4 separate regions of the Homo sapiens genome follow, and all the other regions are linked to region 3. Evidence: promoter capture Hi-C in 16 types of primary human blood cells and fetal thymus (Javierre and others, 2016). All regions are on one chromosome and are shown on one strand. The core of a region is centred on a gene start or on the middle of the fragment in contact, and the rest is flanking DNA. Distances in the headings are between cores, read along the strand shown.

The links. The method cuts DNA at HindIII sites, captures the fragments that hold promoters and counts their contacts. A CHiCAGO score of 5 or more calls a contact.
Region 1: a contact is called between a fragment that was not itself captured here and the fragment with the promoter of TMEM119 in region 3, in 1 of 17 cell types (neutrophils). The highest score is 5.7, in neutrophils.
Region 2: a contact is called between a fragment that was not itself captured here and the fragment with the promoter of TMEM119 in region 3, in 1 of 17 cell types (erythroblasts). The highest score is 5.1, in erythroblasts.
Region 4: a fragment that was not itself captured here is called in contact with the fragment with the promoter of TMEM119 in region 3 in 1 of 17 cell types (neutrophils); the score reaches 6.9 in neutrophils.

What each region holds. Positions count from the first base shown.
Region 1 is chr12:108,883,758-108,890,320 of GRCh38, reverse strand. It overlaps DAO (D-amino acid oxidase), which reads right to left. Exons shown (of 11, transcript NM_001917.5): 2 at 5,121-5,323; 3 at 2,757-2,871; 4 at 776-852; 5 at 48-113. The coding sequence starts at 5,314. Among named protein-coding and RNA genes, the nearest start is that of DAO, 6.9 kb to the right of the region's middle. RefSeq lists a silencer at 1-21. The HindIII fragment of the contact is 8,263 bases long and covers 37-6,563 here.
Region 2 is chr12:108,958,609-108,965,758 of GRCh38, reverse strand. It overlaps SVOP (SV2 related protein), which reads left to right. Exons shown (of 16, transcript NM_018711.5): 6 at 4,712-4,836. Among named protein-coding and RNA genes, the nearest start is that of SVOP, 59 kb to the left of the region's middle. The HindIII fragment of the contact is 2,296 bases long and covers 4,153-6,448 here.
Region 3 is chr12:108,596,487-108,603,505 of GRCh38, reverse strand. TMEM119 (transmembrane protein 119) reads left to right here and starts at 5,422. Exons shown (of 2, transcript NM_181724.3): 1 at 5,422-5,536. The HindIII fragment of the contact is 3,678 bases long and covers 4,897-7,019 here.
Region 4 is chr12:108,932,776-108,939,282 of GRCh38, reverse strand. It overlaps SVOP (SV2 related protein), which reads left to right. Exons shown (of 16, transcript NM_018711.5): 9 at 328-456; 10 at 1,946-2,019; 11 at 5,012-5,088. Among named protein-coding and RNA genes, the nearest start is that of DAO, 56 kb to the right of the region's middle. The HindIII fragment of the contact is 4,586 bases long and covers 1-3,697 here.

The DNA.
Region 1 (6,563 bases), core at 2,919-5,418, 290 kb before region 3:
TTGGTCTCTGGGAGGTACCTCCCTCAAAGTGAAGCTTAAAATCTCACCTTTCAGTCAGCCACTGTAGATAGTTCTTTCCCTCCAGAATTAGGCTTGTGTGGAACCAGCCATAGCTAGAGTCACAGTAAGCAAAAGGTGGAAATAAAGGTAAAAATCAGAGCTATATTTGAAGGCTGTGAAATGGAGGTGGGAGCAATGTTGTTCTGTGGGCCCAAAGGGTAGTGCCAGGACCACTACGTGAAGTTCAAGGGGGGACGTGGTTTTGAGCTCAATGCAAGGAAAATTTTTCTATCAGAAAAGGCCATATCTGACATTGGAAAATGCAAGTGGAGATTGAATGTGCATTCGTAGAGGGGATTCAGGTGTGGTGTGGGGTGGGGTGAGGAGAAGACCAGAGAGGCATCAGGCTGTAGAGAAAAGAAAGGAGGGGTGTGGGGTCATACAGACTGGTTGGAATCCCAGTTTGGCCACTTGGCTGTGTGACCTTAGGAAGTCACTTAGCCTCTCTGAAACTCAGTATCTTCATCTACAAAACAATATGGTGATATGGAGCTTCTGGGCTTGAGATCTGTGATTTCATACCCCCTACCTTCCCAGCCCAAGGCCAGGTTTGAGTGGGTAGCCTCTCTGAAGGAGCTGGACCAAGGACCAGGAGACCAGGGTACCAGGGCCTGGGTAGGACAGGAAATCTGGTGCCTCTACCCTCTGCTGCCTTCTGGACAGGTCTGCTAACTCGTCAGGCCCCAGTCCCCTTTGCCTGTGACAATAAACTCACCCGTAATCTGGGAACATATCCAGCTCTCTGGGGGTCAGCTTCCGAAATCCCAGAACTGTGTCCTTCCAGGAAGGGTCCTGAAGAGGAAGGACAAAGGGGGCACTGGGTGGGATGGAAGTCAATAATAATGATAATGGGCCAGGCGAGGTGGCTCACACCTGTAATCCCAGCACTTTGGGAAGCTGAGATGGGTGGATCACCTGAGGTCAGGAGCTCCAGACCAGTCTGGCCAACATGGTGAAACCCTGTTTATACTAAATAATAATACAAAAATTAGCAAGATATGGTGGTGCATGCCTGTAATCCTAGATACTCAGGAGATTGAGGCAGGAGAATTGCTTGAATCTGGGAGCTGGAGGTTGCAGTAAGCCGAAATTGTGCCGCTGCACTCCAGCCTGGGCCACAGAGCGAGACTTCATCTCAAAAAAAAAAAAAATGATAATGACAGAGACTTATGTAATGCTAAGTGCATATAAGGCACTGTTCCAAGCATTTTCTTATACTGGTCCATTTAATCTTCACAAGAAGCCATTGGGGTGGATGCTATTCTTTCCCCAGTTTACAGATGGACCAATTGAGGCTTAGAAAGATTAAATAACTTGTCTAAGATTACACAGCTAATAAATGGTGGTGTTGGGATTTTAACCCATACAGCTTAGTTCCAGAGTTCATGTTCTTAACCCCTATTTATGGTAAGGGTAAGAGTAAGACCGAGGGTGAGTTATAGGGGAAAAGTCAGAAATAGGGGAGAGAAAGCAGAAACAGTGAGAGTCCCCGGGGATGAGAGAAAGCAACAGAGCATAGTGTCAGACAACAGAGCATAGTGTCAGAGACCCCAGCCTCATCACTTGCTACTTGAATTCTCTGAGACTCAGTTTCCTTGTCTGTATCATGGAGTTAATAATCACTCTTGGCCGGGTGCAGTGGTTCACGCCTGTAATCCCAGCACTTTGGGAGGCCAAGGCAGGCAGATCACTTGAGGTCAGGAGTTCGAGACCAGCCCGGCCGTCATAGTGAAACCCCATCTCTTAAAAATACAAAAATTAGCCAGGCGTGGTAGTGCGCACCTGTAATCCCAATTACTCAGGAGGCTGAGACAGGAGAATGGCTTGAACCCAGGAAGCAGAGGTTGCAGTGAGCCGAGATCATGCCAATGCACTCCAGCCTGGGCAATACAGTGAGACCCTGTCTCAAAAAAAAAAAAATACTCTTGGTCCCATGAAAGGTAACAGATAATGTGGATAAAGCCCTTAGCACAGTGCCAAAGGTTGAATGAACCTTGAGAGCTGGCACGGGGCTCTGGGCACAGCGCCAGACCACCCTCTCCAAGGAGCCTGAGCAAACCGTCCCAGGGCTGTGCTGTTCCTGTTAGCACACTGGACACCATGGAGTCACAGATGGCCTGGGTTCAAATCCCAGCTCTGCCACTGGCGAGCTCTGTGGCCTTGGGCAAGTTACTCCATTTCTTGGAGCCTCCGTTTTCTCATTTATTAAGTGAGGATAAGGACAGCCCTTACCTCCCGGTTATAAAGAGAATTAAATTAGTCGCTAGCTGTAAATTAGTTAGGACTGGACCTGGCACATAATAAATGCTTTGGCAGTTTTTGCTTTGATGAGTATTTTATTCCTTCTTGATAAAAAGCCTTGGGACCTTCAGGGGCACTTGAAACCTTTTGGCTTCAGCACCAAGTGCCCGTCACTGCAGAACATGTTTGTATTTTAGCCATGCTAATCAAAGGCTAGTTTCCCCTGGGCATCAGAAGATTCTTTGTCCTCTGCCAATTTAACAGCAAAATGTAAAACAAAAATAATTTTCAAAGCAAAAATAGAATTTAAACCAAACCTGTTTTGAACCCAGGAGTCTGTTGCCTACGAGACTCAAAGCACCCCGCCCTCATCTGTGATTAAGGCTCTGCTGCACCCACCCTCACTACCCCAGCCCTGGGTGCTCATCCCTCATGGTCAAGAACTGTTCACCCACCGGAATGGCTTCATGGAAGAGGTTGTAGCCCGAGATTAGGAACAGGCCCAGGTTTTCAGCGTTGGGAGAATGGACATGGCTCAGGAGATAGTCAAAGGTCTGTTGGCTCCAGTCCCTGGAAGGGTCATGAAGAGTTCGATCACCCAATGCCCTGAGCTGGGCAAAAAACCTTAGGTCAGCTGGCATGGGGCTGTGGCATGATCAGGAGCTTGGGGTGTGTCCAAAACCCAGAAATCCACCACGTTCACTCCTGCAACTCCCCAAATGCCTTGGGTCTTCTCCCTCCTAAATTTTCCAATATTTCCCCATTAATAGAATAAAGAAGAGAGGGAATGAAGGATGCCCCATCATAACCATATGGAGTGCACCTCCAGCATGGGATTACATGGCTGATGAGTTTCAGTGAAGTCCTTGACCTGGCTTTGGGGATTATGAGCCACACTGTTCAGTCTGGCTGCAAGCACCCCTCCTTGTAAACACTGGTGGCAGACATCGACTTGCCGCTCCTACAACTTTTCCTCCTCCCCCTGGGCACACAGCTCACCTACATTTCCTAGACCCTCTCGCAGCTAAATGTGACTGTGTGACTTGTTTCTGGCCAAGGGACTCTAAAGACTCTGCACGTGTGGTCCTGCATGATCCTTCTGCAGTCACCAGCCCATGTGAATGGTGACATTGAGGTGACCTCAAAAGCACGTGGAAAAACGGCAGAGCCATTAGATGGAAGGAGCCTGGGCCCCGAATCACTGCCCACTGATCAGAATCATTGGTTTTTTACAGCTGTGTGAATTAAAATTCTGGCTGGTTGCAGTGGCTCATGCCTATAATCCCAGCTCTTCAGGAGGCTGAGGCAGGAGGGTCACTTGAGGTCAGGAGTTTGAGACAAGCCTGGGTAACATAGGAAGACCCTGGCTCTACAAAAAATAAAGAAAATTATCCAGGCATGATAGCATGCATGTGTGTCCTCGCTACTTGGGAGGCTGAGGTGGGAGGATCACTTGAGCCCAGGAGGTCAAGGCTGCAATGAGCTATGATCATGTCACTGCACTTCAGCCTGGGTGACAGGATGCCTCTTAAAAATTTTTTTTTAATCTGTTTGAGCTGCTATTCATTGGGTGTTCCATTTGCTGAACCATCTGGCAGTTTCTAAACTACCATAATGACCTTTGCAATTTATTTGATAAATCTGTGCATCCATCCACCCACTTAGATGTTCACCCACTTAGAAGTTTTCTAGATTCAGCTGGGTGCAAGGGCTCACACCTGTAATCCCAGCACTTTGGGAGGCCAAGGAGGGCAGATCACTTGAGCCCAGGAGTTCAAGACCAGCCCGGGTAACATAGTGAGACCCTATCTCTATTTAAAAAGATAAAATTTGGCAAGGCATGATGGCTCATGCCTGTAATTCCAGCACTTTGGGAGGCCAAGGAGGGCAGATCACTTGAGCCCAGGAGTTCAAGACCAGCCCGGGCAACATAGTGAGACCCTATCTCTATTTAAAAAGATAAAATTTGGCAAGGCATGATGGCTCATGCCTGTAATCCCAGCACTTTGGGAGGTCAAGGTGGGCAGATCACTTGAGGTCAGGAGTTCGAGACCAGTCTGGCCAACATGAAACTCCATCTCTACTAAAAATACAAAAATTAGCCAGGCGTGGTGGCAGATGCCTGTAATCCCAGTTACTTGGGAAGCTGAGGCAGGAGAATCGCTTGAACCTGGGAGGCAGAGGATGCAGTGAGCCAGGATCACGCCATTGCACTCCAGTCTGGGCGACAAGAGTGAAACACAATCTCAAAAAATAAATAAAAATGTATAAATTAAAACAGAGGAAGTTTTCCAGATTCACCAATCATGTGGTATTGACAGGCACCCAGTTTAGGGAAGACGAGACAAAGCCTCCTAGTATCTGGCACAGAGCAAGGGGCTTAATATTTATGAATCTTTTCTTTATTTTTTTCTTTTTGAAACAGAGTCTCACTCTGTCACGAGTGCAGTGGCGGAATCTCAGCTCACTGCCACCTTCACCTCCTAGGCTCAAATGGTTTTCCTGCCTCAGCCTCCCGAGTAGCTGGGATTACAGGTGTGCGCCACCATGCCCGGCTAATTTTTTGTATTTTTGGTAGAGATGGGGTTTCACCACGTTGCCCAGGCTGATCTGGAACTCCTGGCCTCAAGTGATCCTCCCACCTCGACCTCCCAAAGTGCTAGGATTAAAGGCGTGAACCACCACGCCTGGCATTTTCTTTATTTTATGCTAGATCAGAGCTTCCACAAGGGGCTTGCTCTTGGTGATGGGAACCCTGACTCCCTCTGCAGACTTAGGTCCATGGGCACCCCAGGCTACCCTATGTGACCCTCACTCACGCCTCCTGTGGGTTGTTGGGGTCAGAAAGGTAGGGCTGCCAGAGGCCGGCAGCCACGTCGGTGGTGGTGAGTGGGGTGAAGCGGTCCGCGTAGACCTTTATGTCCAGTGGCTGCAGGACTGAGTGGTAGCGCTCATGGATGCAGAGGGCGGTGGACAGCCCGATGACTCCTGCTCCAATCACCACCACACGCATTGCAGCAGCCTGTGGGAAGGAAGGGTTGAGGCACAACATCATCACCATCATCTCCATCATCCTTAGCGCCATTGCCACCATCCACTGAAGGCTTAGAAGGTGCCAGACACCACCAAGCCCTTTTTATATTTGACCTTCCCGATGACCCCTAGGAGGAAGGAATATCATTGTTCCCGTTTTGCAAATGGAAACACTGAGGTATGGAGAAGTGACCGAGACTTGGCCACAGTCACACGGCTGGTGAATGATGCAACTTTCTCTGGGGAGCGTCCCCAGACACCCAGTTTCTGGGCTGGGAATAGAAAAGACCCAGCAGAGGGCACGACCAACTGTAGGCTGGGTAGGCCGGTGGTTAGTGCGATGGGCTCTGGCTTCAGGACTCAGCTCTGCCACCTACTGGCCGTTAACTTTGGGCAAGATGCTTCAACCTCTAATAACCTATGCTTGAGGGGATGGATGGGAAATTGAACAAGATGCCAAACGTAACAAATTTAACAAGCTGCCTGATGCAAAAGAAGTAATATACTGACATTTGTGGAGCACCTACTGTGAGCCAGCTGGCCCCGGCACTAAGTGCTTCACAAGCATCCATTCATCCAAGTCTCCCAACACTGTCATGAGGTAGGGGCTGCTGTTATCAGTCCCGTCTTACAGAGGAGGAAACTGTGGTTCAGAGAGGTGATGTGACTTACCTGAAGTCACACAGCCAGTTAAATGGTACAGCTGTGACTTAATTTCAATTTGAGTAAACTCAACACACGCTTAATGCACACCTACCATGTGCCAGGCTGGCAGCTAGCAAATGCAGCTATGAGCATGACAGACGCAGTGTCTGGCCTCAGAACTTGGTCTTCCAGCACAGAACTCCACCTGCCTTGGGGCACAGGGCTGATTGGGCCCTGAGAAGTTTAGAAGGCCTACCAGCTTTTAACCTTGAAGCTACTTAAGCCCGCACAGCAGGGAAATATTCTGCAGGCTCCTGCTGAGGCAGAACAAGAGAATTATTTGTGCCCAGAAGAGCCAAATTCAACTTTCCCTCATCTTCACTCACAACTCTCCTCCCGCAGACCTCAGCTCCTGGCAACTCGGGCCTGTGGCCCTGGACAGCGGGACATTCTTAATATGGCCTAGTTTTATAAAGGAGGGAAAACGGCTCCAGCCCACAAGAACTGGACTCTGTTGGGGTTTCAGAAGCCAAGTTGGAGATAGAACCAACAAACAGAAAGGTATCGTTCCTCTAGGCAATTCT
Region 2 (7,150 bases), core at 4,051-6,550, 360 kb before region 3:
TCCTTCGGTTGAACGTGTTAGAGAATACCACAGGCCACATTTGGCCCACGAGCACCAGGCTTTCTAGGCTACAAGTTGCAAACTGGTAACCCATAGGCCAAATATGGCCCCCGATGTGTTTTATTTATCCTGCACAATGTTTTATAGGATTTTGAATCAGTTGCCTCCATTTCAAAAATGACATCTTGCATAAAAATAAAGTTATGTGTTTTTTGGAAAATCAGGTAATCTGGAGGCCTGGAACCCACATTTTGTCATGGTATCTTTTGGCTAGAGTTGAACAGAGGCTGACACGACAGGGAAAGTTCCCTGTAATTCCACCAGGCCCCCATCCTTGCTGTGTTACATGTGCATTGTGCATTTATGTTTTCTGTCAGAGGTCACAGGGAGCCATCAAAGGCTCTAGAGGAAGGGAGTGGCTCATTCAAGGTTGGAAGTTCTGGCTCCAACTTTGGCACCACTTACGGATCTTCAGCAAATTGCTCAACTACTTGGGCCCTTGCTATGCTAATTTGTAAAGTAGACATGAAAATAACAACCTTTGTTCACAGGGCTGCTGTGAGGACCCAGTGTAATGTTGTGACAGTGGTTAATGAAATGCAAATGAAAGTTCCATGAAGTCAGAGACTCTGGCTGTCATGTTCCTTACGGTAGCCCAGGGCCTAGCAAACAGCAGGTGTTCAATATATGCATATTTTATGCATGAATGGATGAATAATATATATCAGTATCTTTAATGCTGGCTACACAGCATGTGTTCAACATGTGTTTATTGAATAAATGAATGAATGGGTGAAGAAAATATGTCAGTGTCTGGTATACAGCAGGTGCTCAATACATGCTTATTGAATGAGCAAATTAATGAATGCATAATGTCTATGCATCTACCCTGGAGCCTTATATAAAGGGGATGCTCAATAAATGTAAAAAGAAGGGAGAGAGGGAAGGAGGAAAGAAGGAAGGAAGGAGCTATCAATCTATAGAGGGCAGAACAGATATTAGACGGAATGACAGTCATAGTTAATGAAAAGCCCAAAGGCCCGTGAGACATGTCTGCGGAGTCCCAAACAAGCTATTGGGTGGGGCTTGCTGGCAGTACCCCCTGCTTTTGTAATATCCATGACAGGCCTTACACAGGGTTGCTGAGCCCTCATTTTGGGGCAGCTGGAAAGCCCTGGCATCAACAGACAAATGCAGAGCCAGCTGCAACCTGTTGTGATCAAACAGGACAGATAATACGGCTCCCAGCAGACCTTGAAGGAGGGTTAACTCCCATGCACTTGTCTCGGTGCCTTCTTTTCTCCCGCTGATGCCAATTAAGTCTTCTGTTTGATTCAAGACTCCTTGGATTCCAAGGAAGAAAGTCCCTATTAAGTTAGCTTAAGCCAAAAGAAAGGGATTAAATGTCTGTATGGCCAGTACCGATGTTACAGTCATGGATTTAGGAGTGCAAAAATGTTGCTTTATTATTATCATCACTTCCTAGACTTTAGTAAATCCTGTGCCACCTATTATCTTATGTACTTAATATCTTTCTTCTTTCTTTCTTTTTTTTGATTTAATTTTTGTAGACCAAGGGTCTCGCTATGTTGCCCAGATTGGTCTCAAACTCCCAGCCTCAAGTGATCCTTTTGCCTCGAGCTCTCAAAGTGCTGGGATTACAGGCATGAGCCACCTTGCCCGGACCTGAATAACTTTCTTTATATCAAATTGCTTTTTAAAAATCGATCACTTGTAACATGGGGCTAATAAAAAAATTGTAATATATTTTTGGAAAGTGAAACTATACAGTCTTAATTGGAAGATCAATAACAATTGCCTTAAGTAGGAAGTGACTGCAAAAATAAATGCAACACAAACAAAGCAATGTTATTAAATTCTTAGTGGTTGTGGTTGTCCCAGTGCCTTCTGTGTTAAATAGAGAGGAGAGTAGCTATTTTTTAAAATGTGTTGGCTGGGTGTGGTGGCTCATGCCTGTAATCCTAGCACTTTAGGAGGCTGAGGTGGGTGGATTGTTTGAGTCCAGGAGTTCGAGACCAGCCTGGGCAACATGGCGAAACCCTGGTCAACATGGCAAAACACTTACTCTACCAAAAGTACAAAAATTAGCTGGCCATGGTGGTGCAAACCTGTAATACCAGCTACTCAGAGGCTGAGGCAGGAGAATCGCTTGAACCCAGGAGGCGGAGGTTGCAGTGAGCTGAGATCGTGCCACTGCACTCCAGCCTGGGTGACTGAGCGAGACTCTATTTCAAAAAAAAAATAAATAAATACAAATAGATAAATAGGTGTTAAAGACAGACTGGCACCTCACGGACTCTTTGACATAATCATAAAAATGAAGACTGAAATGAAAAAAATAACTTTCTTGTGAGGTGATGCAAAATTATTTAAAATATTCTCTCTGCCACATAAAGTCATTTTCTAAAAGACTCGAAATCATTTGGTAGGCTTCCAAATTTCCTCACTCATCTCCTTTAATTCAGTTTAATATCTTAAAGCAAAAAATCAGTATGTTTCATACTTGCCCCCTGAAGTGTTCCCTGGGGGACAGGAAGGTGAACTCACCCTTGGAGCTCTGGGAAGGGTATTGCAGAAAGAGGCCTGACCAGACCTCACAGAGCAGGTTGAAAATGCACGTGAAATTTGCATTTTACCCTCTCATATTTGGCATTGATTGTGATATAAAAATAGTATTTGTTTACTCTTAATTTTTTTTCCAATCTCTAAGGGTAATTAACACTCCAGGAATATGTGCCATGTTTGTCTTTTTTGTTTTGTTTTGTTTTGTTTTGAGATAGAGTCTCACTCTGTCCCTCAGGCTGGAGTGCAGTGGCAAGTTCTTGGCTCACTGCAACCTCCACCTCCCAGGTTCAAGCAATTCTCCTGCCTCAGACTCCCAAGTAGCTGGGACTACAGGCACCCGCCACTCCACCTGGCTAATTTTTGCATTTTCAGTAGAGACAGGGCTTCACCATGTTGGCCAGGCTAGTCTTGAGCTCCTGGCCTCAAGTGATCCCCGGCCTCAGCCTCCCAAAATGCTGGGATTACAGATGTGAGCCACCGTGCTCGGCCCCATGTTTGTCTTGAAGCATTGTGTCCCTCTGTGGTTCTTGACCCTATTGAACACATGCCCTCTTTACTTTAAAAATGTGGAAAATGTGCCTCTGTAATCCCAGCTACTCAGGAGACTGAGGTAGGAGGATCCCTTGAACTCAGGAGTTCAAGATCAGCGTGGGCAACATAGCAACACTCCATTTCTTTAAAAAAGTGAACACTGAATAACGCCTTCTTAACTATCCAGAAAAAATTTCCAAAGATAAAATAACCTAGTCATTCACGTACTTTAAAAAAGAAATCAGCCAGGCGTGTTGGCTCACACCTGTAATCTCAGCACTTTGGGAGGCTGAGGTGGGTGGATCACTTGATCCCAGGAGTTTGAGAATAGCCTGGGCAACATGGTGAAACCCCATGTCTATAAAATATACAAAAATTAGCCAGGCATGGTGGCACACATCTGTGCTTCCAGTTACATGGGAGACTGAGGTGGGATGATCACTTGAGCCCGGGAGGTTGAGGCTGCAGTGAGCCGAGATTGCACCACTGCACTCTAGCCCGGGCAACAGAATGAGACCCTGTCTCAAAATAAATAAATAAGAAAGAAATAAGTTACTTGTTTCATTTGCAAATTAGGAGGATGTAAGAGTATGTCATTCATTAAAATAACTTCAAAATGAGTTTGCCCGCACAGGAAACTGCCTTTATATTATGTTTTATTCTTCATAGTAAAAATATCACTCAGTACAGTTATACTTTGATATAGTTTTATCCTGGTACAATAGATGTTAGAATAATGATGCCAAAATAAACTTGTTAATGAGAAAAAGAAAGAAATCAGTTCTAAAGTGCTAACTAGGAGGGAGAAATTTAAAACGTCATTAATAAAATAAAATTTATTTTTAATATGCAAATGTTTACCTACAACTCTGTCTAGATGACAAGAGGAAGGGGTCAATATCTGCCCCTGATTGTAAATACGTTTGGACTTAACTGAATATTGTTGATGGTTTTTCTTTACATTTGACCTTTTAAAATAAGGTTTAGATCAGTGTATTCATAGATAAACCCTGAGTGAAAGCTGACACTGAAGCTTCCCATCAGTGACTCAAATGCTGCACACAGCGTTGTCATTGACAGCATGGTTTTCTGAAAAGAACAATTTTGTAAAGTTCCAGGTAAAACAAAGTAAATTTTCTTTTGACTTACCTGAAAGTTGCGTTCCTGAAAAATTAAGTGTATATTCACACTATGCCAAAAAAAAAAAAAAAAAAGTCTTGAATGTGTGAAACAGAGCAAAAAGTCTAGGTGCAGATCATCAGAAACAGAGTTTCAGCTGCATGATGGTCGGGCAGAACATTTGAGATGGTATGAGATGCAGGACAATCTATTTTGTCTCCTGTATTGTGGAATATCTGACATATCTGGCCCAGATTGGCATTCAATGCCAATCATTGGGACAACCAAGAATGCCCCATGATTTTCTCACCCAACCCCTGTGGGTTGGCACTCCCCATACAGAGGAACCCAGTACCCCCTTGGTTGTGTAGGCTCCCTTTAATGTGACCCCATTATCGGCGGCTCTCAGTGAGGTGCAAACGCTACCTGGAGGTGCTGAAAAGCCCTTGTGATTCCGTGTCTTCCTTCTCTTCAGGGGCTGAAGATCAGCGTGCTGTGGACTCTGTACTATGGCATCCTTAGTGCATTTGCGCCCGTGTATAGCTGGATCCTGGTGCTCCGGGGCCTGGTGGGCTTCGGGATCGGAGGAGTTCCCCAGTCGTAAGTAAATACCCAGTGCTGGCTATGCAGCCAGGCTGCCCATCCACGTGTCTGTTCATGGTCTGGATCAGGAGTTAGGGGCTGAGATGGGGCAGCAGGGGTGCAGAGATAGCTATACCAGGGCTTCCAGGATCAAGGAGCTATGGTGTAGCAAGAAAATAGCATCATTATCAGTATTGTTATGATCAACAACAGCAGCAAAACAACACAATGGCTGGAAGGTTGTAAAAGCGAAATGATAATGCATCTAGCATTGATTGACTGTTCCACTTGGACGCATTGCAGCAGCCCAAGAGGTGTGTGTTATTGTATTATTGCAATCTGCGTTTTACAGTTGGGGAAACTGAGCCTCAGAGAGTGAAATCATCTGTCTGAATCACATGGTGGGTAACTACAATATCCATGCTTTTAGCTACCATGAATGCTGCTTCCCACGCTCTTCCTACCTAAACGCAAGGCAGAGTATGATGCTAACCACATGTCACTCAGGCAGCAATTTGCTGTTGCTGTTGTAGTTTAAGGTACTGAGAATATTCAGAGCTGTAGGAAGAAGCCACTGTCTCCTGGGGCATCGAGGAGGACTTCCTATTTGTGATGGGCCCTGAAGCAGAGATTGGCACACTATGGCATACGGGCAGAATTCGACCTGCTGACTGGTTTTGTAAATAAAGTTTTATTGGAACACACCGCACCCTCCATTTATGTATTATCTATGGTCGTTTTCATGCCACAGCAACAGAACTGAGTAGTTTCAGCAGATATATGGCCTGCAAAGCCTGAACTATTCACTATGTGGCCCATTATAGAAAATGCGTGTTGGACTCCACCCTAAAAAATGATAATAGCCAATATTTAGTGTTAACTATGTGGCAGGTGCTGTTCTAAACGGTTTACCCAGATGATCTCCTTTAATCTCTCATTTTCCCTAGAAGGTAAATTCTATTATTAACCCCATTTTACAGATAAAGAAACTGAGGCACAGAGAGGTAAAGTAACTTGCTCTAGGCAACACAGCCAGGAAGTGGTGGAGGAGCTGGAATAGGAACTGGACCTTCTAACCCCAGTGCCTGGGCTCTATACCCATTGCATTTTACTGCCTTGCTATTAAGAAGGCAAAGGATTTGGAAAGACCCAGAAGGAGACTTGGAGAAGATCTAGGACATTTTCTAGGAAGTGAACCACATGAAAAGAGGAAGCCGTAGCTGAGGCTGAGGAAGGCTAATTGTCTGGTTGGTCAGCTTGGAGGGATGAGATCTGTAAGAGAAAGCTGGCCAGGCGCGGTGGCTCATGCCTGTAATCTCAGCACTTTGGGAGGCCAAGACGGATAGATCACTTGAGCTCAGGAGTTTGAGACCAGCCTGACCAACATGGTGAAACCCCATCTCTACTAAAAATACAAAAATTTTCCGGGCTTGGTGGCGGGCACCTGTAGTCCCAGATACTTGGGAGGCTAAGGCAGGAGAATCGCTTGAACCTGGGAGGCAGAGGTTGCAGTGAGCCAAGATCGTACTGCTGCACTCCAGCCTGAATGACAGAGTGAGACTCTGACTCAAAAAAAAAAAAAAAAAAAAGAATTAAAAGCTGAGGTTGGACAGGTAGGCCAGGGCAAGCTTGTTAAAGGCCTAAAATGCCAGGCCAAAGGGATTCTATTGGTGATGAGGAGCCACTGAGAGTTCTTGAGCAGCGGAGGTACCTAGAAGTATGGATCTGGCTATGGCAGGTAGAACAGCTTGGAGGTAAGGAATCATTAGGAAAATTTTGCAAGAGGACCAGGGCGATCCCTTGTAGTGTATTCATTTATTCCACCAATATTTCTTGAGTACCTAGAAATGCTAGGTGCCAGGACGCAGCATTGAGCAAGAGCACCATGGTCCCTGTTCTAGGATGGGATCCTGGGGAATAGACTTTGAGATGGAGATTACTGTGCAGGTGGTTACTAGGATTAACACCTGTAAGAAAGTGAGAAAATTAGGACCAGCGAAGGGGGAAGCTGAGTTGCCATACCATTGCCACAGAGGCCTCTGGTCAGCTTACAGGGTTTCAGAAGCAGAGGTGGCCCTTCAGAGGTGTTTCAGATTGGGGCGGGGGGGCTAGGCCTTTTTACCCTCACACCAACCAGGCATCGGATGTGGGCTGCCCTCAAGGATGGAGCATGATCTTAGGCAAGGCAGCTACTTTTGGCCAAGGCAACTTCTGCAAGGGACTCAGCTCCTGGCAGGCAATGCTCCTGCTCATTTTGGAGGGAATAAAAGCCTCAGTCCTGAAGGGCAGACCAAGTAGCACATCACAGCATCCTCCACAGTCCAGGGTGGAC
Region 3 (7,019 bases), core at 4,173-6,672:
GCGGGAGGCCCCTCCACGGGTGTCCCTCCAAAGGCCAGGCCTGTGCTGTAATGGGGCCACAGCCCAGGCCTCTCTTGCCACATGAAAGGCTTGGCCTATTTTTGCCCAGAGGACAGGCTCCAGTGGCCACTGGGACTGTGTAATTAGAAGAGGCCCTGCACCCATGAGGGGCTGGAGCTGGGGGCTGTGGTGGGCAGGGTGGCTGCCCCAGGAGCAGATGGGGAGGACCCTGGCACAGATCGAGGTGGGGTGGGTTTTCCCCTCACCCTCCCTGCCTCCCTAGCCATGGCTGCCCACCAGGGCGGGGGACCCCGGCGGCTAATTGCACGGCGGGCACAGGGTGAGGTCTCTGAATCCTTCCTAGGCCGGGCAGAGGGCCCAGGTGCCACTCTATGCCTCTGAAATTACAGGCTACAAGTGAGCGGCACAGCCTGCTCCATGCCACAGGCCTGCCTGCGCCCCTGGGAACCATAGTAGTGCAGTCCACAAGGAGCATCCCGGCTGGGCCCCACAACAGGCCCCCCGAACTAGAGAACGTGGAACATGAGTCTCTTAGGATGAACGAGGAGCCGCTGGAGCGGACTCTCAGAGCGCTACCTGGTGCAAACCTGAAAATGCAAGCGTGTGTGATGTTCCTCACCCTGTGTCCAAGTGTTCTCATTGTTCAATTCCCACGAGTGGGAACATGCGGTGTTAATATACATATGTAACAAACCTACACATTGTGAACATGTACCCTAGAACTTAGAGTATAATTAAAAAAAAAAAAAAGAAAGAAAATGCAAGCGTGGAGGTCAGAGCGGTCATTCACACAGTCAACAAGCATTTATGGAGCACCCATGGTGTTCCAGGCACTGTCCTGGGTGGCGAAGTTCACAAAACAGGCAGAGCTCCTGGTGCCTGAAGACCTGGCTCCTGGACCCTTGCAATGACAATAATCTTCAGGAGCTGCCTGGAAGGTGCTGCACTGCCACCCACCTCAGGGCCTTTGCACGCACTGATAGTGACTGGGCACTCCCTTGCGTCCTTGCTTTTCTAAATGCCTCCTCCTCATCTTTAAGAGCAGCCGTACCGTCACCTCTTCATGGAGGCCCCTATGAGGCTCGGGGCCAGAATAGCCTCCCAGACAAGTGCTCTTTTGGCCCCTGAACTACCGCTTCCAACTCTTAGCCCACTTTGCAGTTAGATATTCATTTGTTTGTTTACTTGCTCATTGCAAGTTTCCCCGCTACTCTGTAAACTCTGTGTCTCTGTTTGTCCATCACTGCCTCCCAGGGCCTGACCTTGGCCTGTGTGCAATTAAGGTCAAAAGAAATATTTGTATACATATGTACAACTATTATGTGTCCATAAATTTTTTTTTAGAAATTTAAAAATACATTGGCTGGGTGCAGTGGCTCATGCCTGTAAATCCCAGCTACCTGGGAGGCTGAGGTGGGAGGATCGCCTGAGCCCAGGAGGTCGAGGCCACAGTGACCTGTGATTGTGCCACTGCACTGCAGCCTGGGTGGCAGAGTGAGACATTGTCTCAAAAAAAAAAAAAGTTTAAAATATATTGACATAAAAAAAGAAATATTTATAGAAGGAATGAAATTTAGAGTACCAGAGAATTGGAGTCTTAGGGCTGGCAGGCTTGTGCCAAGCATCTAGTCTAACCCCACATTTAGCCACAGCCCAGGGAAAGGCAGTGATTTGCTCCGTTGCCCACAGTCTTTGCCTGAGCTGGGGCTGGGACTTGGGGCTCCTTTTTTGCCTCTGATCAGTGACTGACATTGTCATTGTTCTGTCCTCAGATTGTGGGTAGGGATGCTCAGTTTAAGGACAGCCTGTGTGTGTGTGTGTGTGTGTGTGTGTGTGTGTGTGTGTGTGTGTGTGTGTGTGTGTAGCGTGTGATGTGTGGTGTGTTGACATGGTGGGAAAGCCCTTCAACAGGACAGAGGGAGGTAGGAGCCCTATTTTCGGGAACGGGCCCCTTGGGAGGGGGGTGGTCCCATTTCGAGATTTGCTGACACGGGGGCCAGTGCAGAAAAAAAGGGCTCTGACCTCCCAACATGCTAACTGATTCTGGGCAGGTTGCTCCAGCATGAACTGCAGTTTCTGTGTCCACCAAGTGGGCTTCCTGCATTCATTCATTTCCCCACAAGCACATAAAGGGCCTGCTGTATTTGAGGCACAGTGCTGGGGGAGCAAAACCCAGTGATTTGTGGGTGGATGATTCCAGACCCATAGGGAGACAGTAATAGTAATATTCAACTTGGGGTGGCAGGCAGAATAATGCCCCTCCCCACGAAGATGCCCACAGCCTAATCCCTGGAACTTGGAAATATGTTACCTTTTTTTTTTTTTTAAGATTTGAGGTCGTGCTCTGTCACCCAGGCTGGAGTGCAGTGTCATGATCATAGCTCACTGTAGCCTTGAACTGCTGGTCTCAAGCAATACTCCCACTTCAGCCTCCCAAGTAGCTGGGACCATAGGGATGTGCCACACCCAGCTAATTAAAAAAAATTTTTAGAGACAGGGTCTCACTAGATTGCCCAGGCTGGTCTTGAACTCCTAGCCTCAAGTGATCCTCCCACTCAGCCTCCTGAGTAGCTAGGGTTACAGGTGTGAGCCACTGCACCCAGCTGAGTGTGTCACACCTTATTTGGCAAAAGGGATTTGCCGATATGGTTAATTAAGGCTCTCAGGGAGATTATCCTGGATCCTCAGGGTGGGGCCAACGTCAACACTAGGGGCCTTCAACGTGGGAAAGGGAACCGGAAGAGAGATGGTGGTATGAAAAGGACCCTGCCTGCTACCACTGGCCGGGAGGGTGGAGGAAGAAGCCTAAGAGCCAAGGAATGCCAGCAGCTTCTAGAATCTTGAAAAGGTAAAGAAAGAGATTCGCCCCCAAGACTCCAGAATGAACGCAAGCCCTGTTGACACTTTGATTTTTAGCTTCACGAGGCCCGTTTGGGACTCTTGACCAAAAGAACTGCAAGAGCATGAATGTGAGTGGCTTCTGGCCTCTAATCTGTGGTCATTTGTTACAGCAGCAACAGGGAACTATACCCTTGGCCTTGGCCTGTGCTTTTGACATTGCTGAGCACGTGCATGCTCCCTAGCTCCTCTGCCTTCCCCTGCCAGCTTCCGAGTAGTAGGGAGTCTCCATCTCCATTTTACAGAGGAGGAAACAGAGGCTCCATGTGGGGCAGGACATGGTGGAGGCAGGATTTGAAGTGGGTCTGTCTGCCTCTCGCTAGATGAATGAATGAATGAATGAATGAATGAATGAATGTAAGGGGCTGCTAATCCACGGGACTCCTCAGGTCAGCCAGATGTCCTGGTTCCAGGGCCTGCCACTAACTCACCTCAGATCCCTGCTTGAACCATTAGAACTCACCTGCCTCACTTTCCCCCTCTGTGAAATGGGGCTCCAACGCCTATTCAAGCTACTATCATTGGGGGCATTGTGAGGCCACAGATCCCAGAACAAACCCTCCAAACCCTCATTGACTCCCTACTGCCTCCTAGGTGACCTTCCAATACTTTAGCCCAGCTCCTGCCAATGTCTCCAACACTTACTACCCCTCCTTCAGGGGGATGCTCTGCCCAGGAGGGAGAAGCAAAGAACGAGGGGAAGGGGACTCCGAGAGCTTCCCTCAGGCTGGGCCTCTGGGGCCACCTGTGCAGGGAGCAGGCTCTATTTGGGTTGGTTGTGTCCCTGCTCCTCGACATCCCAAGGTCCCCAGACTGCAGCCCTCAGAATGTTGGGTAAGGTCTTCTTCCCCTGCTGGTGGGCCCTGGGGGAGGTTTGGCTGCCCCTGACCACCCGATGTCTGGTCTAAGACAGGTCAGGTAGGCCTGGAACACCCCTGGCCACCTTAAAGCGGGCACAGCTGCTACAACATGTCTGTGGGTGGCCACTTGCCCCTGGGACATGTGTGTGCATGAATGTGTCTGTGCGAGTATTGGTGGATGGTCCCCTGTTCCCTCGAAGATGCAGGGTTTGGGGTGATTTCCAGAGAAGATGGGAAAGTCTCTGATTTTATTTCCCAAGCAAATGACTGTCCCAGTTTTCTGGGGGTGAGCGAGGGCTGCTGGGACCATTGCAGGGAACAATGATAATCTAGGCTTGGTTCCTACCCAGAGAGCACGCACTCATCCTTCATGCACTCCCCTGTTCCAAACCCTCACTGGCTCCGTACTGCCTCCGACCTTCCGAGACTTTAGCCTGGCTCCTGTCAACATCTCTGACCCTTACTACATGATCCTCTCTTTGGTCCATGCTCCAGCCTAATCTAATTGCGGTGGCTTGTGCGTGGTGGCATTCCCAGCCACCATACCTTTACCCACGCTGGTCCTTCCATGCGGAATGCCTTTCCAGGGCCTGCTTTGCCCGCTTCTGCTCATACACAGGCATGCCCTCCAGGATGGCTTCCTACCTCTTTCCCTTGGGGGATTGATCTCTCTGTCTTGGGGTTCTCGGAGCCCTTGACCTGACCCCTTTCTGTTTGGCAAAAAAGTAATTTACCTCGGTGTCCTTCTCCCTGGTAGTCTGTGAGCTCCCCAAGGCTGGGCTGTGCCTGATTCACCTCTGGAACTTGCTTAGCACAGTGCGTGGCCTGCTGCAGGTGTTCATTGAGCACTTGCCGAATGAATGCATGAATGAATGAATGAATGAATGAATGCAAGGGGCTGCTAATCCACAGGACTCCTCAGGTCAGCCAGACGTCCCGGTTCCAAGGCCTGCCACTGACTCACCTCAGGACCCTGCTTGAACCATTAGAACTCACCCTGCCTCACTTTCCCCCTCTGTGAAATGGGGCTCCAACTCCTATTCAAGCTACTATCATTTGGGGGCATTGTGAGGCCACAGATCCCAGAACATCAGAGTCAGAGGTAGCCCAGAAAGCTTCCCACCCATCCCTACAAATGGGAAACTGAGGTCTGGAGAGGGAAGGGCAGAGTTGGGCTCCCTGTCTCAGGCTCGGACCCACCATCAGGCCTGTCTCTAAAACGAATCCCAGCTCCCACGCTGCACCCTGAGCCTGGAAGCCTGAGCCACACAAGGACGGGGAATTTTCCTTCCCACTTCCAGAGGCCTCTGAACCTCCCTGAGCTTGTCCCCTTTGGAGGGTATTGGGCAGCAGCGTGGGCAGAACCCCAGCTCACTGTCTGGGGGAGCGCTGCAGGACAGCCTTGTCTGTCTGTCTCAGCCTGCCCTGGGGACCCGAGGTCAGGGAGGAAGTGCCGCATCTGGTCTTCCCCAGAGCGAGAGTGTGAGCAAGGGTGGGATTGCGTGTGGCCCGAGAGTAGCCCCTCCCCTCCCCCTGTCCCCACCCCAAACCCTCTTAATGAAATCAAGCTGGCCCTGCGGCCCAGCCGGGGAGGGAGGAAGGAGGAGGGACGGGAGGAGGGACGGGAGGAGGGAGGGCGGGCAGGCGCCAGCCCAGAGCAGCCCCGGGCACCAGCACGGACTCTCTCTTCCAGCCCAGGTGCCCCCCACTCTCGCTCCATTCGGCGGGAGCACCCAGTCCTGTACGCCAAGGAACTGGTGAGTCCTGGGGTCCCCTCCTCTGTCCTGAGAGCCTGGAGCTATCTTGGAGCTTAGGGACTGGGGACTGTTGGAGCACTCTGGGGGGCCTCTCTAAGTGTGTGTGGGCTTTGAGTGTGTGTTTGGTGTTGTGTGCATGAGTGTGGTGGAATCTGAGTCCCGTGTGCGGTGCTGGGGTGGGCCAGGGTGGGCCGGAGTGTTGTGTGTGTGCGGCTGGGGCCTTGGTGTAGGGGGTGTGTTGCTTCCACTTTTCTGCAAGTGGATGCCAGGCTGTTGCTTCCAGGATCTGTGTGAGGGTGATGTGGACGGTATTGTCCTGTGTGCAGGGATCGGCTGTGTGTCAGGGGGTTGTGTATGTATATGTGTTGTGTGTCCGTGTGTGTTCTCTGTGTATTGTGTGCATGGGCCATGAGAGTGCTGTTGGGTGTCTCAGTGCTGTGTGAGTCGGTGTGCCTGTGTTGTGTGTCTTTATATTGTGTGTCCATGCTGCTCTGTGTGTGTGTGTGTGTGTGGAGGGGGATTGTGCCCCCAGGACCCCCCTCCCCATCCAGACCTCCAGGGCCCAGGTCCCTGTCCTTGGCTGGCCCTGGGGTCGGGGGCATGTGCAGTGCTCCAACCAGAACACCCCTCCCCCACAAGGCCACTGATTGAAGCCAGGTTTCCGTGGGCCGCCCCTCCCCCAAAGGCCACCAGTCTCTGGGTGGGGGTGGGGCAGCCCCCGGTCCCCTAGCTTCAAGTCTTGGGGCCCCCAGGCCTCAGGGGTGCATCTGCACTCCTCCACAGACTCAGGACCATCTTAGGGCATTTGCCACACTTACACACGGCCAGCCCTGCCTGACATGTCCCCAGGCAGGGAGTCCTGGGCAATCACGTGGTACCTGCTAATTGGCACCCACTGTGCACCAGGCATGGCCGCATCTTGTCCTAACAGCAGTCCAGGGAGGTGGCTCTTATCCCCATTGTACAGATATGGAAACCGAGGCTCAGAGAGGTGACATGCCCAGCCCAAGGACACATAGCCGGGAAGTGACCTCCTCTGGGATATACCAAGACAGGCTTCTCTGTCCAGGGCTCTGCTGGGCTCACCCCTGACTTTCTGTGTGACCTGGGCAGGCTGTTTCCAGTCTCTGGACCTGAGTTACCTCTAAGGTGAAGCAAGAGGCGTTGGGCCTGACCCCAGCTCCTAATGGCCTGTTAGATTCTGAGTCCTTGAAAAAATTAGGGTCCGGGGGGAGGTAGGCAGAATAATGACTTCAGAGCTGCCCAGAACAGTGCTTCATTCCACAGATGGGAAACTGAGGCCCAGAGAGGGCAGGGGCCGTCCAGGGCCACACAACCATCTTTTTTGAGGCTCTGCTGACTGCAGGTGGGGCTGGGTCCTCCATACGTTGCCCCCACCTTTCCCTGGAAGCCAGGAGGGGTTGTGGGGTGCAGGGGACTCTGAGAGTCAGGGTCTCAGCCTTAAAGAGCCAGTGGCAGTTTG
Region 4 (6,507 bases), core at 155-2,654, 340 kb before region 3:
TAATAATAACTGCATTAACCCATACCAGGCACTGCACTAGGCACCTTGCCTGTATTATCCTGTTTAATCCTCTTAAGAGCCCTAAGAGGTAGGATCTCTTATCATTCACATTTTATGGAGAAGGAAATGAAAGCACAGAGAAGTCAAGTAATTGTACAGGGTCACACAACCAACATAATAAATGGTGGGGCCAGGATTTGAAGTCAGCTCTCTGGCTCCAGAGCCCCCACTCTTAAAGACCCCACATGCAACACTGTGTGGCTAGAAGCGAGTGCTCTGTTCCACCCTAACCAGCCACGCCTGGGTTTCCTGTCTCCCCCATCCCAGTGGCTGCCTGAAAGTGCAAGGTATGATGTGCTGTCAGGGAACCAGGAAAAGGCAATCGCCACCTTAAAGAGGATAGCAACTGAAAACGGAGCTCCCATGCCGCTGGGGAAACTCATCATCTCCAGACAGGTCAGTGCCTGGACCAATAGACTCTGCAATGTGCGTATCGGGGTGCATGCAGGGGAGTGTGTGCATATGGAGTAGGGCATGCATGCGAGGACACATGTGGGTATGTGTACCCAAGGTGGGGTGTGTGCGTGCACATGGAGCAGATGAGGGCCCAGTAGACAGGACCTGCAAGGGTAATTTGGCAACTCCAATCTGTATTTTCACTTCCAAGTTCTAAAAATGCTTCCTGGAGAATTTCACCAGTGATTAGAGAAAAGTAACCTCTGCTAATGGGTCCTGTAACTGCTCCTGCTTTGGTTTCGCCTTTCAGCACAGATGAAGTCTGACTAGCGAATGAGACTGATTGGCAAAAGCTGTGCAATAAAACCATATCAGGAAGGAGTGTGCTTAGATCTAGGGGATCAAACCGCACCCTGTGTAGGTGTTCTTAATGAATGGTGCCTCACTCCGCTGGTAACACCATCAGGGAGTCCACCACGGTGAAACTTAATGAGCACCTAGTATATGTAGGCACCAGCATTGCACACATGGGGAGAAAAGATTCGGATTTAAGGCTGCAGTCCCTGCCCTCAAGAACCATCCAAGCCGATTGAAGAAACATGACAAATACCTTAAGCAGACATCAGATCCTATAAAGAAATTACCTTTTAAAATAAAGTTATATTTCTGATTCTTTTTATATTATGCAAGAAGAACTGAATGGCATTTCACCAAGTTGGAAGGAGGTGTTTGGTCTGACAACATAGAGTCCAGGGGACCTGCCCCAAATCTACAGGGGCAGAGCAGGATGGATTCCTCAAGAGGTGCAGAAGCCTATTTGGTTGCCTTTGGGGAGAGATCCCTTCCATGGATGAGGGAAAGCCAGGCTGGTCTCGAACTCCTGGCTTCAAGTGATCAACCTGCCCCGGCCTCCCAAAGTGCTGGGATTACAGGCACGAACCACCACACCTGGCCATAGCATATATTTTTTAAAGAACATCGTAAAGCAAAGTTTGATAAATTTGTGAATTATGTAAAATTGGCCAATCGGTCATTTAGCTAATCAATCTTTTGGTAAATTGGCCTTTGGTGAATTAGTTTCTCAGCACATTAACTGTTGCCACCTAGACCTAGAACTGGGGAAGGCACATGTGTGTGTGTGAAATGGCTGGACATGCTTTGGACTGGTTTTCTGCTTGCTGTGTCCTTGGATCTGTGCTGAGGTCTGAGGGGCCAGGAAGGAGGGATCTGCTTCCCAAGTCCAGGTTTCCAGGTTGGAGGGCGTGAGATCCATCCTGTGGGGATCATGCCCCTGGACATGGCTGGGTTCTGGCTGGAGGGGCTGGGAGGCTGCGTCCTGTAGATTTGAGACCTGGGTTCTCAGAGCTCCAGTGTCCTACTTACTAGAAACCTTCCTCCCAGCCTGGTGTGCACTAGTCTCAGGCCACCAGCCCATCTCCCGTGCATCTGTAGGGGAGAGAATAAACACTATGTCCTTGTTTTGAAACAGGAAGACCGAGGCAAAATGAGGGACCTTTTCACACCCCATTTTAGATGGACAACTTTGCTGCTGTGGTTTATATGGTAAGAGCTGTTTGTTGACCACTTTGACCCCTTTCCACTCCCTGTGCCCTGTTTTGGGTTTTGTTTTAATGCAATGGACAGATAGCACTTTGATTTCAGGCAGCGTTTGCAAATTTCAGTAGTTCGAACATCATCCTCCTGATTTCCGTCATATCCAGGTTATCATCTGTACGTACTATCATTTCCTTCATCTTTTTCTTTAACTTGACTGCTTTTAATCACCGTGCAGGCTGGAGTGCAGTGGCGCTCTCCTAGCTTACTGCAGCCTTGAACTCCTGAACTCAAGCAATCCTCCCTCCTCAGCCTCCCCAAATTCTGGGATTACAGTTGTAAGCCGCTGAACCAGGCTTATAACTCTACTTTAAAAGAAAACACCTTAATTGCAAGTCACAGATAGAAGGCACTCTTAAAGAGAAATATCAGCAAAAGTAACTAGACGGAGGTTTGCAGAGGCAGTGAGCCTCTGTATTTAAGAGATAAGAAGGCTGGCTGGGCATGGTGGCTCATGCCCATAATCCCAACACTTTGGTAAGGTCAAGGTGGGAATATCTCTCGAGGCCAGCAGTTTGAGACCAGGCTGGGCAACACGGTAAAACCCTGTCTCTACAAAAAATGTTTAAATTAGCTGGGTGTGGAGGCATGCACCTGTGGTCCCAGCTACTCAGGAGGCTGAGGTGGGAGGATCACTTGAGCCCAGGAGGTTGAGGCTGCAATGAGCTGTGATCATGCCACTGTACTCCAGCCTGGGCAACAGAGTGAGACCCTGTCTCAAAACAAAAAGAGATGGGAGAGGGGAGGTGTTAAGGACTCATTAGCACATAAGTGAGACTGGGATATAATTTAAAAGGATTGAAAGGATTGAAAGTAAACTTAAAAAGTAATTTTTCTTTCACAATACGATTAAATATTTCTGCTATATGGGCTGGTGTGGTGTCTCATGCCTGTAATCCCAGCACTGTGGGAGGCTGAGGCAGGTGGATCACCTGAGGTCAGGAGTTCGAGATCAGCCTGGCCAACATGGCATAATCCTATCTCTACTAAAATACAAAAATTAGCCAGGCATGGTGGTGGGCACCTGTAGTCCCAGCTACTTGGGAGGCTGGGGGATGAGAACCACTTGAACCCGGGAGACAGAAGCTGCAGTGAGCCGACATTGCTCCCCTGCACTCCAGCCTGGGCAACAGAGTGAGACTCTGTCTCAAAAATACATGTGTGTGTGTGTGTGTGTGTGTGTGTGTGTATTTATACTATGTCAGTGTCTTCCCTGTAGCCCACATTGCCCCTTGGGTACCACAGGGGTGGCATGTGGCACGTATTTTGGGAACCACTGATTTGGTCAACATGGGCATCCTTTTAAGTTCCAGTTCTGATCCTGTTGGACTTTTTCTTAAATAATACCCATGGAAGGGAGTGGAGACAGAAGGTGTGGGTTGGGGGTGGTATTTGGAGAGTGTAATCACCTTAAACTCCACAATGAATTGGAGCTGCAGTCATCTTTCAAGTCTCTTTGCACCAATTCATGTACACAGCATTAATAGTGAACAAAATTGGCCTGGCTTAAGGCTTTATGTTCTATTTTAACCAGTTCTCATTTTTCTATTCACCATTTAGCAAAGGTGCTAATTAACAGGGAAGTGTCCCCAAGGTGGTCAATTACAGGGAAGAGGAGAAAAAAGCTTTGATAATATACAGAACGGACTCTAGCTCTGCCCCGAATTCCTAAGAGCTCAATTAACTCAGTGAGCCTGCAGAATTTTTTAAAAGGATGGTGGGGCATCAGAGTTGAGAATACCCACCTTTGAGCACATGTAATTTGGTTGGGCCAACGCTCCTTGAATACTGAAGCAATTAATTAGAGACTAATTTTAGTGCATTATGAAAGCCACTACATTTGCTTGCACACATTGAAACCTAAGGAAATGAATCACTGGCTTCTGATTATGACTGAGTTTTCATATAACTATTCTACTGGATGAGAAGGTTCCGGTCTTGCAAACTTGAGTATTCTAATTTCTGGGTCAGCCAGGAATTAATAAACGGTGTCATTCTGCTCTGAAATTCGAAAATCACATGTCCAAGTTGACGCAATTGACCCAGAGCCCTAAAAGATATTAATGGGGCTGTTTTCTTCCAGAGGTTGGTCCCATTTTTCCCCTATTGCCAGTTGGGTAGACAGCCTTGGAGGTGTTGTGTCTCTTGTATAGCATAGTTCTGTTACCAGAAAGGTGTCCTGATTCAGACCCCAAGAGAGGGTTTTTGGATTTCATGCAAGAAATAATTCAAGACCAGTCTATAGAGTAATGTGAAAGCAACTTTATTAAGAAAGTAAAGGAATAAAAGAATGGCTGCTCCATAGGCAGAGCAGCCCCAAGGGCTCCTGGTTGCCCATTTTTATGGTTATTTCTTGGTGATGTGCTAAACAAGAGGTGGATTATTCATGCCTTCCCTTTTTAGACCATATAGGGTAACTTCCTGAAGTTGCCATGGCATTTGTAAACTGTAACGGCACTGGTGGGAGTGTAGCAGTGAGGATGACCAGAGGTCACTCTCATCGCCATCTTGGTTTTGGTGGATTCATAGCTGGCTTCTTTACTGCAACCTGCTTTATCAGCAAGGTCTTTATGATCTGTATCTTGGCCGACCTCCTATCTTATCCTGTGACTTAAAATGCGTAACCATCTGGGAATGCAGCCCAGTAGGTCTCAGCCTTCATTTACCCAACCCCTATTCAAGATGGAGGTGCTCTGGTTCAAACACCTCTGACAGTTCTTGGTCTTTCAAAGGACACAGGATCACTTCCCTTTGATCATATCGTGATGCTTTTTTACCTACCATCTTCTTGCTCAAGGTCCCCAGTAAAGCCCCCAAAATCCCAGTGAAGCCCAAAGACTGGTCCCTGCTGCTGTAGACATTGGCCCTTCCCAAGGGGGTAGGGAAAGGGGACTGGTGTTCCTCTGATCATTTCTTTACCTTTCTTGCTTTCTCCTGGCAGGTTTTCCAATGCATTCTCTTACTACGGGTTAGTTCTACTCACCACAGAACTCTTCCAGGCAGGAGATGTCTGCGGCAGTGAGTATCTTGGTTGTCTTTGCCAGCTAACTACTCCCACACCCTCGGCACATACACAGTCATGCACACACTCCCACCCCAGGCTCTGCCCTTAAGGGATTGGCCTTGTACTACTTCTGTGGTTTCCAAGACACTCTGTAGAAACCTGGACAGTCTTGTCGCGATGGAGCTAATCTTAGAGGAGCCACATCTTATGTCAGGGTTTGGGCTCTGAAGTTCGCACTGTTAAAACATAAACCAAGGCACATTAAAGAAAAACAGAGGTAATTTTGAAGAGTTTATCTGAGCGGACAGCGATTTATGAATCAGTAGAAAAGAGCTGAAGAAAACAGAAACAGGGAACAAAAAGCAGGTGGGTTGTTTCAAAGTGACTTTCCTTATTGGATTAAAACAGAGCAGATTTTCTTGTCAGCCAGCTCAGGTAAACTAGGCCCCTTCACATGGTTTGCTGTGAATCTTCCTTTTCAAAATTATTATTATTAAATTTATTATTATTATTTTTTTATTTTTTATTTTTGACGGAGTCTTGCTCTGTCGCCCAGGCTGGAGTGCAGTGGCTTGATCTCAGCTCACTGCAGCCTCCGCTTCCTGGGTTCAAGCAATCCTCCTGCCTCAGCCTCCCAAGTAGCTGGGATTACAGGTGGCACCACCATGTCTGGCTAATTTTTGTATTTTTTTTAGTAAAGATGGTGTTTTGCAGTGTTGGCCAGGCAGGTCTCAAACTCCTGACCTCAGATGATCTGACTGCCTTGGACTTCCAAAGTGCTGGGATTACAGGTGTGAGCCACTGTGCCTGGCCTATTATTATTATTATTTTTGAGACAAGGTCTCATTCTTTCACCCAGGGTGGAGTGCAGTGGCACAGTCATGGCTCACTGCAGCCTCCACCTCCTGGGCTCAAGAGATCTTCCTACTTCAGCCCCCAAAGTAGCTGGGACTACAGGTGCAAAAAGAAATAGCATGTTAGTTAAATTTACTTATTTATTTATTTATTCACAGAAAAGAGGCTGAAAAGTTGCAGGCCAGGCGTGGTGGCTCGTGCATGTAGTCCCAGCACTTTAGGAGGCCGAGGCAGGTAGGCTGAGGCCAGGAGTTAGAGACCAGCCTGGCCAACATGACAAAACCCCGTCTACACTATAAGTACAAAAATTAGCTGGTTGCGGTGGTATGTGCTTGTAATCCCAGCTACTCAGGAGGCTAAGCCAGGAGAATCGCTTGGACTCAGCAGGTGGGGGTTGCAGTGAGCAGAGATTGCACCACTGCACTCCAGCCTAGGCGACAGAGTGAGATTCCATTTCAAAAACGAAAAAAAAAGAATTATATTTGGGAGTAAAATATTTTGATTTCCCTCAGGGTCTGCTGTCTGTTGAGTGATGTTCTACTAGAGTCAAGTTGGAATTTGGTATCTGATTGCCACGA